6 separate regions of the Homo sapiens genome follow, and regions 1, 2, 3, 4 and 6 are each linked to region 5. The links are contacts of gene promoters, found by promoter capture Hi-C in blood cells and fetal thymus (Javierre and others, 2016). All regions are on one chromosome and are shown on one strand. The core of a region is centred on a gene start or on the middle of the fragment in contact, and the rest is flanking DNA. Distances in the headings are between cores, read along the strand shown. Region 1 overlaps RTL9 (retrotransposon Gag like 9). Region 2 overlaps LOC105373312 (a long non-coding RNA gene). Region 3 overlaps RTL9 (retrotransposon Gag like 9). Region 4 overlaps AMMECR1 (AMMECR nuclear protein 1). Region 5 holds the start of ACSL4 (acyl-CoA synthetase long chain family member 4). Region 6 overlaps AMMECR1 (AMMECR nuclear protein 1).

The links. Contacts are between HindIII fragments. The CHiCAGO score rates a contact against its expected background, and 5 or more counts as called.
Region 1: a contact is called between a fragment that was not itself captured here and the fragment with the promoter of ACSL4 in region 5, in 2 of 17 cell types (non-activated CD4 T cells and total B cells). The highest score is 7.3, in non-activated CD4 T cells.
Region 2: a contact is called between a fragment that was not itself captured here and the fragment with the promoter of ACSL4 in region 5, in 12 of 17 cell types (total B cells, non-activated CD4 T cells, naive CD8 T cells and 9 more). The highest score is 27.8, in total B cells.
Region 3: a fragment that was not itself captured here is called in contact with the fragment with the promoter of ACSL4 in region 5 in 1 of 17 cell types (naive B cells); the score reaches 5.2 in naive B cells.
Region 4: a contact is called between a fragment that was not itself captured here and the fragment with the promoter of ACSL4 in region 5, in 2 of 17 cell types (activated CD4 T cells and total B cells). The highest score is 6.1, in activated CD4 T cells.
Region 6: a contact is called between a fragment that was not itself captured here and the fragment with the promoter of ACSL4 in region 5, in 2 of 17 cell types (activated CD4 T cells and total B cells). The highest score is 8.0, in activated CD4 T cells.

What each region holds. Positions count from the first base shown.
Region 1 is chrX:110,412,496-110,415,246 of GRCh38, reverse strand. The region is part of intron 1 of RTL9 (retrotransposon Gag like 9); the gene reads right to left. It also overlaps a transcript of AMMECR1 not described here. Among named protein-coding and RNA genes, the nearest start is that of RTL9, 55 kb to the right of the region's middle. The HindIII fragment of the contact is 6,094 bases long and covers 1-2,751 here.
Region 2 is chrX:110,322,468-110,325,424 of GRCh38, reverse strand. All of the region lies in intron 1 of LOC105373312 (a long non-coding RNA gene), which reads right to left. It also overlaps a transcript of AMMECR1 not described here. Among named protein-coding and RNA genes, the nearest start is that of AMMECR1, 5.9 kb to the right of the region's middle. The HindIII fragment of the contact is 997 bases long and covers 877-1,873 here.
Region 3 is chrX:110,430,231-110,433,062 of GRCh38, reverse strand. The region is part of intron 1 of RTL9 (retrotransposon Gag like 9); the gene reads right to left. It also overlaps a transcript of AMMECR1 not described here. Among named protein-coding and RNA genes, the nearest start is that of RTL9, 73 kb to the right of the region's middle. The HindIII fragment of the contact is 4,673 bases long and covers 1-2,832 here.
Region 4 is chrX:110,262,073-110,264,772 of GRCh38, reverse strand. AMMECR1 (AMMECR nuclear protein 1) reads left to right here. Exons shown (of 6, transcript NM_015365.3): 2 at 174-284. Among named protein-coding and RNA genes, the nearest start is that of SNORD96B, 38 kb to the right of the region's middle. The HindIII fragment of the contact is 3,693 bases long and covers 1-2,700 here.
Region 5 is chrX:109,731,962-109,734,661 of GRCh38, reverse strand. ACSL4 (acyl-CoA synthetase long chain family member 4) reads left to right here and starts at 1,405. Exons shown (of 16, transcript NM_001318510.2): 1 at 1,405-1,523. It overlaps LOC105373311 (a long non-coding RNA gene), which reads right to left and starts at 2,151. Exons shown (of 1, transcript NR_158569.1): 1 at 1-2,151. RefSeq lists silencers at 1,143-1,452, 1,550-1,670 and enhancers at 1,793-1,932, 1,993-2,042. The HindIII fragment of the contact is 5,191 bases long and covers 1-2,700 here.
Region 6 is chrX:110,302,266-110,305,108 of GRCh38, reverse strand. All of the region lies in intron 1 of AMMECR1 (AMMECR nuclear protein 1), which reads left to right. Among named protein-coding and RNA genes, the nearest start is that of AMMECR1, 14 kb to the left of the region's middle. The HindIII fragment of the contact is 2,605 bases long and covers 6-2,610 here.

The sequences.
Region 1 (2,751 bases), core at 116-2,615, 680 kb before region 5:
AGCTTTTTCTTCTCTCATTCACTCTATTCATTCATTAATTCAGTCATTCAACAAACATAGATTTAACCATGGCTCTGGTGCTACGGCCCTGGGGAGTACAGAGATGACTAAGGCACAATCCCAGTTCTCAAGATGCTTCCAGTTTAATGGGGGAAACAGAGAAGACAGCAGGAAATTATAACACACTGGGATAAACATGAATGCTGTGAAAGCACAGAAGAGGAGCATTTAAAGTGGGCAGGAAAGGGTGTGGAGGATGGGGAGGCAGAGAATATATATATATATGCTTTCTTCTTTCTTCAGAAGAAAGCAAGGTGTCATCAGGTGGCCAAAAATAGTACTGTGTGACTGCATGGGCAAGTGGTAGTGGATGCAGTGAGAAAGGAAGGACAGGGCCAAATCATTAAGATCAAAGGTTTCTGTTTCATTCTGAAGACTGAGGGGAAGCTCTGGAAGGACTTTAAGCAGAGTAGTAGCACTGTCAGATGTGCATTTTAGAAAGATTGTCCCAGCAACAGAATGGAAGGTAGATTGTAGGGCATGAGATAGGTAACAGGGGACCCATTTATCAGCTTGTCACAATAATTCATCAAGATAAGGAAGGTCTAAACGAATGAGATGGCTTCTCCACATACAAATTGTGTCACGTTAGTGAGTGACTTAACCTGTCTGTGCCTCAGCTTCCTCCTCTGTAAAGCAAAAATAACAAGAGTATTGCCCTTGCAGGGCTGCTGGCAGGATTAAATGAAACACTGCATGCAAAGCACCTGGCACAGTGGCTGGTACCTAGAAGACACTCGATACATATCACTTCCCCTTTCCCCTCATCCTTTTTCCTCCACTTCACCCTTTCTTAAAGGCTGGCATGGTATGGAGCATGGAAGTGGCCAAAGCAGACTCTAACCCAGACAGTCTGACTCCAGAGGGCAGTGGAGAAAGTTTGCAAGTGCTATTGTCAGGACAGTTACTTAGAAGGATTGTTTAGCTGAGTTGAGGGCCCCGCTGAGGTTGGAAACTATGACTTTCTGGTGGGACTAACCAACAAAGTGATGGGATTTTCTCCAGCAATGTTCCTCCATCTGGGCATAAGCACAGAGGAGGAAACTGTCAGTTAAATTTATCCAGACTTAGGATTTTGCCTCATGGATGCAGCAGAAAGACACAGGGCAAGGGAATTGGGGATATACGCAAGATTCTGAAAGCAAACAGACCTGACTTCAAATCTCATCTCTGCTGTGGGACTTTGGGTAAGTCACTCAACCTCTCTGAGCCTCAGTCACCTCATTAAAAGGAAAACCACAATAGTATCTTCCTCATAAAGTTATTGTGAGGATAACATGAGATTACTGAAATGATGTCATAAGATGGGTAGTATATGCCTGGCACATACATATTAGTTGTTATTCTTATCATCATCATCATCATGTTCCAGGATGGAGAGGGAAGGTAGTAAGGTGAAAGGGGCTGATGGGATGGAAGAAATGGATGGAGGGGGCTCAAAAAACTGGAGAGCCTCCTGAGGTAAAAAGAAGAGCGTTGAGGCCAGCCAGCAAGGTGTAGATGGTAGGGGGTTCTGACTGATGATGAAGCATGGTAAGGCTAGGATGAGAGTGTGTCCTGTACATGGATCACGGATGTCCAACTCACCCAGAATGATGTCAGGACTTGGGGTGGAGAAGAAGACAATGAGCCAGATGTCGAACTCTTCGTTGAATGTGGGGGTGGGGGGGGGTTGACCAGGAGGGGATGGTTATAAAGAAGCGTCAACGAGGAGAGAAGTAGCCAGATGGCATGAGAAGGAGGAGTTCTTGGCTGAGGACGGAGGACTAACAGCCTGGAAGCAAACAGGGGAAGCTAGAGCACAGACCCCACCTCCCAGCCCTAGGGTGCCTGTAGTGTGGGAGTGTGGACAGTGTCCACTAGAGGGCGCTGGTGGCAAAGCCGTGAGATCCGCCGTGGAGACTCAGGTTTCAGCACTTCCAGGCCCGGAGGTAGACAATAGTGCTCTGTAAAATTTATCCAGGGTGTAGGGGGAATTGTTTACTGCAAGGTGGGGGCTTCCAGAGGGTACTGAGAAGAGTGAGAGAGGGCGGTAGTGGGGAGGTGGATGAGTCGGGGTGGCAGGGATGGGAGCACTGAGCAGTATGAGGATGGTATGGGAGAGGACAGATGACGAGCAGGGAGGCTTAACGTTTGGGCTGTGGCCAAGAACTGGGGGATGTGAAGCCTGGTGGGATTAACTGTCCTCGGAATTCCAAACGGAGCTTTTTTTTCCCTTTACATCTTTTGTTTATTATAAAAGTAGCACATGCTAGTTTCAAACAACTCTAATTATTGCTCAAGGGAAAATCTACCTCTCCTATTCTACTCCCCAGTGTTGACAGTCTGTCTATCCTTCCAGTCTTTTCCTGTATGTGTAACATATAATACCCTTAACAAAAATCAGATCCTACTATACTTACTCTTCTGCAACTTGCTTTTATCACAATACTATATTGGAGATATCATTGCACATCAGTATTTAAAGATCTAGCTTGTCTTTATTTGTGGCTACATCGTCATTGTCATCATTATACTAGTAGTTGGAATAGTAATGTGTAGCAATTATTAAATGCTCTGTGCCAGGTCCTATCTGAATATTTCATATGAATTATCTCATTTACTCTTCACAACTTCATGAATTGTTACTTTTCCCATTTTACAGATGAGAAACGGCACAGAGAGGTTAGAAACTTGGTCGAAGTCACACAG
Region 2 (2,957 bases), core at 126-2,625, 590 kb before region 5:
AGTGGAGATGGTTAATGGCTATAAAAATATAGATGGAATGAATAAGATCTGGTATTTGATAGCACAATAGTCAACAATAATTTATTGTACATTTAAAAATAACTAAGAGTATAATTGGAATGTTTGTAATGCAAAAAAATGACAAATGCTTCAGGTGATGCATATCCCATTTTCCTGATGAGATTATTGTACATCGTAAGCTAGTATCAAAATATCTCATGTACTCCATAAACACACTATGAATGCATAAAAAATTCAAACTAAAAAAATAAATGAATTTTAAAACTCCCAACAAAGAAAAGCCCAGGACCAGATAGCCTCACTGTTAAATTCTACCACACATTTAAAGAAGAATAAACACCAAATCCTTCTCAAGCTCTTCCAAAAAATAGAAGGAAACTGCCCAAATCATTTATGAGACCAGTATTTTCCTGATGCCAAAACTAGACAAAAACATCACAAGAAAAGAAAACTCAGACCACTGAATGTAGATGTACAATGAATACAGATGTAAAAATCCTCAAAAATACTAGTAAATGGATCCAGCAACATATAAAAAATAATTATATACCATGATGAAGTGGGATTCATCTCAGGACTGGAAGGTTGATTTACTATCCCAAAATTAATGTAAAGTATTAATTTTATGGTATATTAAAGTAATATGCCACATCAACAACATAAAGAACAAAAACCACATGATCCTGTCAATAGACACAGTAAAAGCATTTGACAAAAAATCCAACCTGTCATGATAAATTAAAAAAAAAAAAAAACACTCAACAAACTACCAGTAGAAGGGACCTTCCTCAACCTAAGGGAAGCTATTAAAAACTCACAGCTAACATCATACTTAATGCTAGAAGACAGAAAGCTTTCCCCATTATATCTGGAATAAGATAGGGATGTCTGCTCTCATCAATTCTATTCAACATTGTACTAGAGGTTTTAGGCAAAGCAATTAGACAAGAGAAAAAAAAATACATCCAGATTGGAAAGAAAGAAGTAAAACTATCAGATGACACAATCTTGTGTACACAAAATCTTAAGAAATCCAACAAAAAACTATTAGTAGTAAGAAATGAATTCAGCTCGGTTGCAAGATACAAGATCTAAATTATGCAATGAGGCCAGGTGTGGTGGCTCACGCCTGTAATCCCAGCACTTTGGGAGGCTAAAGTGGGCAGATCACTTGAGGTCAGGAGTTCGAGACCAGCCTGGCCAATATGGTGAAACCTCGACTCTACTAAAAATACATAAATTAGCTGGGCATTGTGGCGTGCACCTGTAGTCCCAGCTACTTGGGAGGTTGAGGCAGGAGAATTGCTTGAACCTGGGAGGCAGAGCTTGCAGTGAGCCAAGATCATGCCACTGCACTCCAGCCTGGAGTGAGACTCCATCTCAAAAAAAAAAAAAATACAATGAACAATCCAAAACTGAAATTAACAAAATTATTCCATCTTCAATAGCATCAAAAAGAATAAAATAGGAATAAATTTAACAAAAAAGTTTAAAATTGTAATCCCAACTTTGACTCTGAAGATGGGATTCTAAAATGGTACAGTCAATTTGGAAAACAGTCTGTAGTTTCTGAAAAGGTTAAGTACAGAGTTATAATATAACACAATAACTCCACCACTAGGTAAATGAGAGAAATGAAATGAAATGAGAGAAATGAAAACACACATCTACACACAAACTTGTAAACCAATTTTCTTTGCAACATTATTCATAACAACCAAAAAGTGCAAACACCCAAATGTCAATCAATTGATGAATGGATAAACAAAATGTGATATATCCATATAACAGTATGTTATTTGGCCATAAAAAGGAATGAAGTACTGGTAGATGCTACAACATAGAGGAAGCTTGAAAACATCATGTGAACTGAAATAAAGCAGACACAAAAAGGCAAATATTATATGATTCCATGTATATGAAATGCTCAGAATAGGTAAATCCATAGAGACAGAAAGGAGATTAGAGGTTGTCTAGGGCTGAAGAGGAATAGGAAGGAATGAAGAGTAACTGCTAATGGGTATGGGGTATCTTTTTTGGGGTGATGAAAGTGTCCAAAATTGATTATGTTGAAGGTTGCATAACTGCATGAATATTCTAAAAATCATCGAATTGTAAAATTTAAATGGGTGGATGGTATCCTTTGTGAATTATATCTCAATAAAAAGAAGAAAGAAAGAACAAACCAGAGAATTCTGGAGGAAACACAGAGCAGAGTGTAGCATGGGAAATTTCAAGCCCCTTAGAAAAGCTATATGCTACCATGAAGTATCTGCAATAGAAATAGCAGCTTGAGGTTTTAGAAGACCGTCAAGTGGCATGAAAGAAATCTAGAATCCCTTGTGGAATCTTGTGGAAGATGCAGAAGTCAGCTGAGGATTAAGCAGCAGCCTACTTACCAGGCAGTGGCTGTGGCATAAGGTGAACAGCCCCAAAGAAAAGGCTGTAGGGTGGATAGCCAACGTCAGGGGCCAGATGGAGGATCTGGCTGAAGTTTGGAGGGTTAGCTGCACTATTAGGAGCTAGGGTAGGAATCCCGAATAGTAAGTAATGAGAGACGACTGAGCTTCCTGACACAATCATTGTGTATTACTCATGCTGAGAGAATAAGCCATAAATTGTGAACATTTAAGCAGTGAATAGAGTGAGGCAAAATGAGCTACACTTCAAGTGGGATCTAGCAGAGGTTATAGGGATCAGATTTCTGCTCCTCGGTGCCATGAGTGAGTTTGTACTTTACATTGATTATTTGTACAAAAGAGACTTAATTCAGAACAGACTTTTATATTTTAATTGACAATGTTAATCCTCACCCTGCCAAAACTGTGCCTCCAACCAACTGGAATAGGTGCCCCAGAACACAATGAGATTAGTTAAACAGCTATATTTTTATAATTAACTTTTCAGGTGAGGCCAATTGGGTTTCATTATGTACA
Region 3 (2,832 bases), core at 269-2,768, 700 kb before region 5:
GGGAGCAGCCCTCTTGGCAGTGCTCTGCTGGGGATGGGCCACCAGGCCAGGAGGTCGAGGACTTGCTTCCTGGACACAAGTCTGCCACTGACTGTCTGGGTTAGCCTGTGCAAATCTCTCCACCTCCCTGAACCACAGGGTCCTCACCTATAAAATGCTTCTCCTAGAAGCGTCTGAGGATGCATGACATGGCAGCTGTGAAAGCTCTTTGCCAAAAGGCTGTGCAGAAGTGAGGTGTTGCTAATTTCAAGTGCTGGGACTTCACTCACTTGGAAACATTCAGGAAGCAGGGGTGGGGAAAGAGAGAGCAGGGACTTGCATATCCAGGACATATGGGGGCCTATATTTGTTGTCCTCCTGCTTAATAGCATTAGTGATTCAAGCTGGTGCTGCCTGTGGAACACTCTGTCTTTCGGGATCCTCAGGGACAGGAGGGGTTTCAGAGCAGCGAGGCTGCAGCCAGCACACAATACAGTGAAAAATAGAGTGATAGCAATGAGGTGCCACGCTCACAGGTTCATACACATGCATGTACACTCCTGACGGCCCCCAACGCTGCCTCACAACAGCAGCTGGGGCTAATTACAGCCAGACAGCGCCTTCTCCAGCTCTTCTCTCGAAGCTATCAACCCTCCCCACCACTACCACTACCACTCACCCTTGGGGATTGCCTGATCTCTCAGAAGGGGTGCTGCTGATGCCACAGCTAAATGCCTAGAAAGAACCCGGCAGGGGGTGTAGTGGTACAAGGGAGTAGGAAGCCGCCATGTGGCTCCCCGTCTTGCAAGTGTGGGTAGAGAGGAGGAGATGAAATGGAAGAGAGCTGGCTGAGATACAGATGCAGCTTTGTGTTAACAGATGTGCTCTCCTGGCAAGAGCGAGCCTAGGCACTTAGCCCCTCCCTTCTCCTTCATCTGGATCCACCCAGGGATCCCCTCTTAACTCTTCTCCCTCTTAAATCCCCAGCTTCCTCTTCAACTCAGCATCTGCCATAAAGCTCAAGAAATGTTGAATAAATGAATGGGTGAATAAACACATAAACCCTCCCCAAACCCTTAGTACTCCCAAACCCTGTTCCCACCTCACAGGCTGTAATGACTCCATGAGCCCTTTCCTCTGCTTTTCTTTCTATATACTCCCTTTGGACAGTGTCAACTCTCACCTAATATGCTTCTAACTCCCAAATCTCTCCTGGTAGCCCAGACCTTGCCAGCTGCCTGAATGTTTCCCCTGCTCCTCAAACCTAATGTGCCCCACACTAGAGTCTTCAGCAATGACTTCCCCAGGGGTTTTCTAGCAGTGAGTCCTGGTCTGTCAAGGGCGTATGAGAAAGAAGGGCCTGCTGTATGCGCCCCAGCAGGACAGGGGCAATGAACACATTGGCAAAGTCATCAGGGCAACCTTCTGATCCCAGGGTCTGTCTTCACACCAGGATACCAAGGTTTTTCCCATCAACCTTTTAACTGTCAGCCCTCCCTCCCACCCATAAGGAAAGCCAAATTAAGAATGAACTGCCAAATTGGAGCTAACTGCCTAATGTGGGCTTCTAATTGGAACCAGGCAAATTGTTTATATAAAGAAAAACCCTTGAAAAGGAGCCCATGTGAACTGGTGAGTTATTTCTTCTTCAACATGAGCTCTCTCTCCCAATCCCACTCTCATTGCTTCAGAATCCTGGTATTCCTCCCACCTTCATCCCTCAGCCAGCACACACACACACACACACACACACACACACAGCCTTCCCCTCATTTTCCTTCTCATGAACCTTCACTTCATGTTGGAGCCCTGTCCCCATGATCACTGCAAACCCCCAGGTAAATATTGAACCAAGATTGGTGAAAACTGGAGATATTATTCCACCAAAGCAGTGTTAGAGGGAAGGCCCCCAGAATGTTTACTGAGAGTTCACAAATTATTTCCTGATCTTGGCAAAGATAGAAAATAAAGCCCCCCTTTCCTCCAGGTCTTCCTAGATTTGGAGAGCAGCCAAAGGAATGGATTACAAACACAGTGGCCCTTGGTTCCTGACAGCCTCAGGGCCTATGAAGGCAAAATCCAAGTTTCTTCATTCCTTTTCTCAGGGAGTCCTGAGTATCATACACAAGTACAAATGCAAGGTGTCATTATAACCAGCCATGTTATGACCACATCTAGGGATTTTTAGTTTTTAACACAAGGTGAAAGATGTCTCACCAATTTCAGTTTGACATACAAGATGCAAAGTAATTTATTCAAAGCACTCCTGTGTTTAATTTCAAAACAGTCATTTATTCACTCAGCAAATCTATGTTGAGCATTTCAAAGAGCTGTAATTCATGGTTCCTGCTTTCAAACTCCTCCTTCTCTAGTTAGGAAATGAAAACCCTATATACAAGGGTTAACTGACAACACAAGACCATGCCAGCTTCCTTTTCATGCCTGGTGTGGACTATATGGCTCTCATAGTTTTGGCAGTACTGAAAATTTCCACTCTATTGCTTCTGTCACTACTGTTGACCTCTTCTCCAATACAAGGTGGTAAGTAGATGTGTCTCTAGGGTGCCTGGGTTCATATCTGTGTTCCGCCATTCACTAGCTATGTGACCTTGGCCAAGTTATTCAGCCTGTCTGAGTCTGGTGCCTCCTCTGTAATGTGAAGATAATAATAGTAACCTACCTCACAGCATCATAGTGAGAATTAAATGAGTTAATACACACAAAGCACTTAGAATGATACCTGACACATAATCATTGCTCAATAAATGTTAGTAATTATTATTTTCCTGATGTGCCTACTGTTCTTTGTTAATACCAGAGGTCACAATTCTTATTGGGCTTCCAAAAGAAGCG
Region 4 (2,700 bases), core at 92-2,591, 530 kb before region 5:
TATAATATAACTTTTGCTAAATGTAGTCCTATTGGGCTGGCCTGTGAGCCCCTTGAAGGCCTGTCTTTTGGTCTTTATATCTCAGGCACCTAACCTAGCAGACAGTCAATACTCAATAAATACTTGCTTGAATTGAATTGATTTATTTACCCTATTTTTATCTTCCATTACAGCCCACTGTTTGTAACATGGAAGATTGGTCGAGACAAAAGATTACGTGGATGCATAGGTACTTTTTCTGCCATGAATTTGCATTCAGGACTCAGGGAGTACACACTTACCAGGTGAAGACCAATTTTTGTTACCTCTGCTTTTACATTAAAAAAAAAAACTTATGAAACTTGAATCTGATACTTTAACTCCTTTTACTGAATTGTCAACGTTCTTGTCTTCCTTCATGTCAGGTTTTTCCTTTGTCTTTAACCATTTACCTTTTCTCTGGTAAAATGTTATTGATATATATTACCATAATATAAAATACTGTGATTAATGTATTCTGCCATCGATGTTTTGAAGTGTTTTTTTTTTCTTCCAGTGGCCAGCTTATTTTGTATAACTTGAAAACCAATGACCAAATGTCCACGGGTTACCAAAATATGTGATTTCTATAGTAACAGTCATTATTTCTTCCCTCTTGTGTTTTTTAAAAATAGTTGTTGTCTCTTTCATCTTACACATTTTGTTACACTTTTAAGGACTTTTGAAATTGAAAGGAGAGCCTAGGAAGAAAGTGATGCCACAGCCTAGCAGTATAATCATTCACATTCACACTTCACCCAGAATTAATTGTAGCTTGCTTATTTTCTTTTATCTAATAAAAGGACAAAGTAATTCCTCATTACAGTTGTTTAAAACTTTGTTCTTAATTTCTGAATTCACAAAAAGCTATCTAGCACACAATGTGAATTTTTTGGTTCAAGTTTAGATTTCAAGCAAATTGTGACCCAAAATTATTTCAAAAGAAGAAAATTCCTTAAATAATAAGCTATTAGTAAAGGAATTTCCTGTTTTTGTTCACATTTTAGGGTGATTATCTGATACAGTTTCTATAGTTGTAATATGCACAGTGTCTGTCCAACAAGAAATTGCTCCCTGCTGACTATTGGTACTTGGGGCATGTTTCTCAACCTCCATAGGTAAAATAGTAATTACAGTATTTTGTTCTATATACTTAATAGAGGTGTTAGGAGAATGAAGTAATAATCACTATTTTACTTCAGGATTAATGTGGAACATTATTTTACTGTAGAACTGCATAAATGCAGGCTCATAGCACCAGTTAATAAAATACTGTAACTGAGTTTGGTATTCTCATATTTGAAGGTATGCAGTAGCTCACAGCTGCAGGGTTTTCTCAGCTTACAGTGAAGCCCAGAAAAAAAACCAATGGCTTGGGGGATCATATTCATTTTTTAGCTTTTCACAGGTATAAGAAACTGGGTGTTTGGATTTGATTAAATAACATACAGGCTGTAAGGGTTGAAACACATATTCTGGAAATAAATTCAACTTGTTAAAGATAATATAAGTACTAGTCTAGGCATGTTAGATTTTTTTTTTCTGACATAAAATACAATGGGCTCATTTTTGGGACTTCAGCAAATTCTGCCAATGGCTACCTTTTTGGGACAGGTACATATTAAATTACACATTTAATACTAATCAATGGCAATTTATTGTACATTTCCCAAAATAAGTTGTTATGAGGAACACTGGTTCCTTTGCGCTACCTGAAGAAAAGAATTCTGTGACCAAATAAGTTTGGGAAACACTGGTTAAAAAATGTAAACAACTCTGCTCACTGTAGGACTTCTCAGAACCTTTTATGTTAATAGTGTTATGTATATCTAAGAGAGAGAAATAGAATGTAGCATTTTCCAGGCTTATTTGACTACAGGACCCTTTTATCCTCCCACCCCAAAGTCTGAGTGTTCCAAGGAAAACATTTTTGGAAACACAAGTCTGTTTTCAAAACAGAATATTACTTTATATTTGGGTAGTAAGAGTTGGTATTATAGAAACCCTTTGTGCTTTCTAGTGAAATTGTAGCAGAAATCCCATTATCAAACATTATATACCTTAGAAATCTTTCGTAGTGGTCATTGTGGTAGCAATTGGGTTTTGTTTAAAGAAAAAAATAAATTCTTTTGCCAATGTTGGCAAGGGGTGAAAACATCCAACTTTTCTGGACTTGTCCATTTATATCCTAGGGTAATGACCAGAAGAATTACAGTATAATTTTCTGACAATAATGTGATTCTGAATGAATTGTTCAAATACTTGAAGTTGGAAATTTGCCTACATTTGTATACCTTGTTACCCTCATTGCAATCTATAGCTCTTCCTGTTTACTTTTCATCTTTTTTCTCATGTTTCTATACAGCTTCCTCAAATTGTATATATCACATTAAAGAGGCGTGTGTGTGTGCGTGTGTATACATATGTTTGTGTGTGTATACACACATGCACATACCTGGTTTTACTTCTCATTTTTGTTTGGCTTAATTTCTTTTGTATAACAAGATATTAACAATCATACTATTTGGAAAAGATGAACAAAAGAAAACAAGTCTTACAAAATACAATTAATCTTTTTTCCTGGATTCATTTTAGCATCAAAAGTTGTAAGGAGTCATTTTTAAAAGTTGGAATATAATATTTTTCTGTTCAGTAGTGTGCTTATCATTTTTACGTATTATG
Region 5 (2,700 bases), core at 156-2,655:
GAAGTACTGAACTTTGTAGGTCAATCTTGAAAAAGGAAGCTACATGACTGTCTTAGCAATATTTATAGGTATATTATATGTAAGTGGGTGGGTTTCTTGGAAATTGAATTGGTAATATGGCTTTAGAGTAGTAACACAAAAACTATAGCTCTGTGCTCTCAGCTAACCACTTTTAGTGTCACCTGGGCTGCTTATTAAAAATTCAAATTTCTTATCCCTACCCAGATCAGAATCAAAATACCTGGGGGTTGTAGCTCCAGGTACCTACATTTCAACAAGCACCCCAGATAATTGTGATGCACACTGAAGAACTACTCTAGCTTGTAATCTCAGGTGGTAAGGCATTTTATATATACATATATATATACACACACACAAGCACAAATGGTAATTCTATGGGAAAATGGAAATCAGCAAGTGAAGTGAAATGTCAATTACCATCAGGAACAGGAAGCTAGTTCACCATTACGCATCAGGGAACTGGAAGAATTCTTGAGATTTATTTTTTTGGGTGATATATTCTTGGCAGTTTATCAGGCCTCATTTGCAATTATGGTCTGTCCCTTTTGAAGCCCTCAGATAGTTCGCTGGCATTTTAATTTTAATAGCAATTTCTTGCATCTGTTGGAACAGCATTCGTATGACCGGCTTATAAGCAATGATCAGGGCTAGTAAGATGTCACAAAGCTGCGGTGACTTTTCCTTATCAGTTGGGGGTTTTTTTGCCATGATACCATCGTGGAAATGAAAGACAACGTGAAAATCCTGCGTCCTTGTGATATTTCATCAGTGGGAGTGAGCGGGGATCTTAACGCAGTAAGAGGCAAGATAAACGGATGAGAGGCATTAGTTCAGGCTTACAGGAGCAAGATGCTTTTAGTCAAAGTGTTCAAGATAGCTCTCTTAAAGAGGAGCAGTGAAACCCAAAAATGAGTGTCTTTTGAGGGCAGCTGGAAGATGACCCGAGGGGAACTTTTATCCTGGGGTGGAGTCCTGCGAAGCAAGCCGCAGGTGAGGGCGTGGGCCAATTCTGCGCCTCACTGCTGTTAGGCGCAAGGACATCCCGAAACACACTCAACGACACCAGCAGCGAGACTGACAGAAGCGGATCGCCAGCGGGAGCAACAACTTGAGGCGAGCCGTTAGCCGCCTCGCCTTCCTCGCAGCGCCCCTCCCGCGCCCCGGGAAGCCCGTTCGGCTCCGCCTTTTCGACTGACGTCCCGGGCGAGCGGGGGCGGGCGCGTGGGTGGGCCGAGCCGTCTGCAGCCAGCGATTCGGCTGGCTCTGCCACACCACCGCGCGCCCCCGCTCCGCCCGCCCCTCCGGGCGCGTCTTTTCCGGGCTCGCGCTGAGTCCCGCCTCCGCCGGCTGTCCGGGTGCGCGCGCGCCGCTGCGGCTTTTTCTCTGGCCTCCGCCGCGCGCTCCTCCTCGTCCCAGCGCTAGCGGGCACGCGGTTCCTTTTTGCGAGCTTTCCGAGTGCCAGGCGCCGGCCGGCTGCGAAGACGCGGTGGGCCGCCCCTCCGGTGAGTATCCCTGGATGGGGAGGTTGCGGCCCCGGCACCCCTGCCCTGTCGGTACCAGGGCCCCATTTCCAGAGGGGGACTGGCGTACCTCACCTGAGCCGGGAGGAGGTTGGGTGGGCATTCCAGCTCCTGGAGTCGGCTCGCTTTTTTCCTTGAGCCAGGGCTATCTATCCGCTCGCCTCCGCTGGGGCCGGGAAGATTCCCGAGGTCACTGTATCTGCTCCTGTGATGGACTCTGGGGTCCTCGGAACCCCAGCCTGCCTCTTCCTGCCGCTCACCGCATCCCGAGGGCCAGAAGTCATCTTCCTGATCGGGGTACTAGGCTTTGCCACGGCCCTTTCCGGAGGAGACCATGAAGTGCTTGCTAGACCTCCAAACGACCTTTAGGGTGCCCCTAAACCTCAACTCCATTTTGTCCCCTCCCAGTCGCTCTGTAACTGAGGGCTAGGGAGCCTCTCTAGCCCTAGAGGCATCCGCCCTCTCGAATTTGAGGGATGCCGTCGCTTCCGATATCTTCCTTGCTTCCGATATCTTCCTAGCTTCCGTAGGCTTAGGTTTGTTAGAAAACAGCTGGATCCTGGCGAAGCGTGCTTTCCTTCCTTCCCCCACCCCCGTTCTTTCTGTCTACATCCCTGCCTTCAGTGGGTGCTATATATTTAGTATGAGCTTTATTCACTTCCTCTTCCTCTCGTTTGAGTGCCTGAAAGAACTGTGGCTGATGTCTATAGACATAGAAAAATCTAGGAGAATATGATTCATTGTCTAACCCCATCAAGGGGTTACATATTTTAAATAAGACGTCATTTCTCCTCTTCACTCCAGCATCTCCTCCTTCAAAGGCATTTTTCACCCTCTTGAAATTAATACGCTCTATTCGCTCTTTTCACCTAAAAAAAGGTCAATCGTCGCTCTGAGAAACAACAGTGAGATGCAAAATAAGGGTAAAATGGCATTGAAATGAATCCCTTTGAAAAAGTAAGCGGTTTGCTTTATCAGTTAATGGTCTCATCAGCGCTTCAGTTTCCTCTTCTGCAAAAATCAGTCTGTTGAACTAGAGCATATCAAAGGTTCCTTCTAGTGTTTTGATTCTAGGACCTCTAAATTCATGCAGGCTGCATAATGCAAATTTAACCTGATTAAAGCCTTATTTCTCATAGTCGCTTGTCACCTTAGTTTT
Region 6 (2,843 bases), core at 59-2,558, 570 kb before region 5:
AAGCTTGCAGTCATACTGAAAAGACAAGATTCATGAAACAAATAATGAAGTCACATATGATTCAACAGCTAAATGAGTGATGGAGACAGTGATGTCTGTAGGACTCATTGTTTGGGTAGACTAATGTGGGCTAAGATTGTACAGGAGAGCTTTACAGACAAAATAGGATTTAGGCTAGGTAGAACTTTCATAGATGGAAAAAGCAGTCTAGGCAGAGAAACATCTTAGACATAGGTCAGGATGAGCATTATACAGTGGTCAGTGGGTACCAATCAAAAGTAGGTTGAAGTGGGGGAGAACCTAGCAAGAAAGGGGACCTGTAAGGAGACTAGCTATAACAAGCATTGGGAAATGAAGGTCTAACAGTTGACAATTTTAAAATTTTAATGGCCTGTGAGTGGCCTCTTTCTTGGTAAAATTTCTCTTTGTCTGTTTAATTATGTCTCACCAGCACCTTTAATGTTGTGAATGTCATGAAACCTTGACAAGAGACTAGGAAATAACACAAGCAGTAGTCTGCTCTGTAGACAAAGTGCTTTCATTCTTCAGTACGCATTCAGCTTAAGTCAGTTAGATTAACATTGGTTATGTCACACTGCCTGAGTGCCTTCTATGTTCAGTGATCTTTTTTCTTCTGAACTTCAGTGTCTCAAAGATGAAGTTAGAAAAATTGTCTAGCTACAAAGTTATGTAGTTTAAAAATACTATAATTATGATACAATTAAATGGTTTGGTCACTTTCTTTCCTCCTAAAGTTAATGAAGAAATTTTACTTGGATATTGCAAATTTAACTGAGATAATTTAGGTACTAGGGATTATAATAATTTTAGGAAGATTGTGAATGATGACAGTCTTCTTTATGAAATTAATTTAAACATAGATTAGGCTAATGGGAATGTTCCTTATGGTTCTTCACATGAGCTTTAAGAATGCTACAACTCTTAAGAAACAATCTATATAAGCAAACTTGTAAAGGTTTTATACTGTTATTTAGAAACAAAATTCTAAAATAGTTTCCTGAATTACAATGAGCAGCATATTTTTAGTTTATGTTGAGGAATGATTATGCTTTGAAGAAAAAAACAAGCAAAATTCTCAGTATTTTAGCTGAAGATGTGTCTTTAAGACATAAGTTTAGAACTTAAACTTCTTTTTCAGTGATCACTGTAAAATTCTATTTTAGTAACTCCCTTCTGTTATTCCCAGAATATGTTTTAGAATATAAGAAAATTATTTTCCAAATATGGGACTAATCTCTGGCAGATTGTAAAGCATGAGCATTGTATCAGTATACTCAGGAAACAGAAAACAACACTAGCGTAATGCTCACTAACAGTGTTCTCTATGTAGTCAGTTTATGTCTATAAGTAAATGAACTCTCCCTCCTATCATAGTCGAATCTGCAATTTGAATTATATACTATTAGAGTGAGGAGAAAAAATACCAGATGTTAAAATAGTGGTAGTACAATATTTTTGAATAAAAGTTGTTGAAGAGGTAGATGTTGACCCTATGTAATAATCATAGACTCCTGCCACATAATGGGATAGGAGGCCAAATGGAATCCAGTGGTTTTTAGTACAGACCACACAGAGGTTCCTGATCACTTTTAATATCCGTAAATCTTTCTTAACAAAGGTGGATGCCCTCATCAGGGGAGTGGGAGGCAATTTTGTTTATACAGGGTTGAACTATTTAGATTTCAACTTCATTTTTCACAGACTTCAAACAACGTGCATCTCAAATAGGCAGGCACCTCCATAGTGTAGAGCACAACTGGGGGAAAAAGTCAGGGCTTTTCTGTTTTGATTGTGGCAAGAGAACAAGCAAACCCATTTTAAAGTGAAAAAAATGGATGTAGGTCTAACGGGCCCTGATTCCTGTCTCCATTGGGCTACACATAGAACCTTTGCTTCTGTTTATTTCCGCTCAGTCTAGAGAAATTCAGATAAGTTCTTACAGAAGAGGAGTGCTTTAGTCTTTAAGGTTTCTTTCACTTTCATTAAGTTATATTCACCATCTCATAATAACCCTTCATTAACTCTTAACTAATTTAAATAGTTTGTACCAGTCCAGCACGGCCTCAGGTCCATTCATTTTCTCAGAATTGTTATATTTAAACACTTTTTACTTCAATCTCTCCCACCCCAAATTTGAAGTATAAATTTAGGAAAATCAGTCAATCTCTCTCTCTCTTTTTTTTTTGTTTTTTGATTTGTTTATTTATTTTTTTGGAGACCAAGTCTTGCTCTGTCGCCTAGACTGGAGTGCAATGGCGTGATCTCGGCTCACTGCAACCTCTGCCTTCTGGGTTCAAGCAATTCTCCTGCCTCAGCCTCCCAAGTAGCTGGGGATTACAGGTGACTGCTACCACGCCTGGCTAATTTTTGTATTTTTAGTAGAGATGGGGTTTCACCATGTTGGACAGGCTGGTCTTGAACTCTTGACCTCAGGTGATCCACCCACTTCGGCCTCCCAAAGTGCTGGGATTACAGTCGTGAGTCACCGCGCCTGGCCTAGGAAAATTCTCCTCTTACCCCTTCTTCAATATAGTTTCTCTCTGGAGCTTTGCCATTTTCAAGAGCAGTAATCTTGAATATTTGAAAGCTTGGTAGCACCTTCATTATAGAATTTTTACTGTGTAAATTCTAGCAATGTTTATCACTAGCAAAGTTCTTTACTGGTCCTGCTGGTTTTCCATTTTTGGGAGATGGTAGAATGATGGGAATGGGGAGGTGTAAATTTATGACTTCCAAGTTTTTTTTTCAATCATTGGATTTGAGTGTCTACAGCAGTGTATAAACACTGTCTAACTGGGTGAATTTTGGAATCAGGGCAGTAC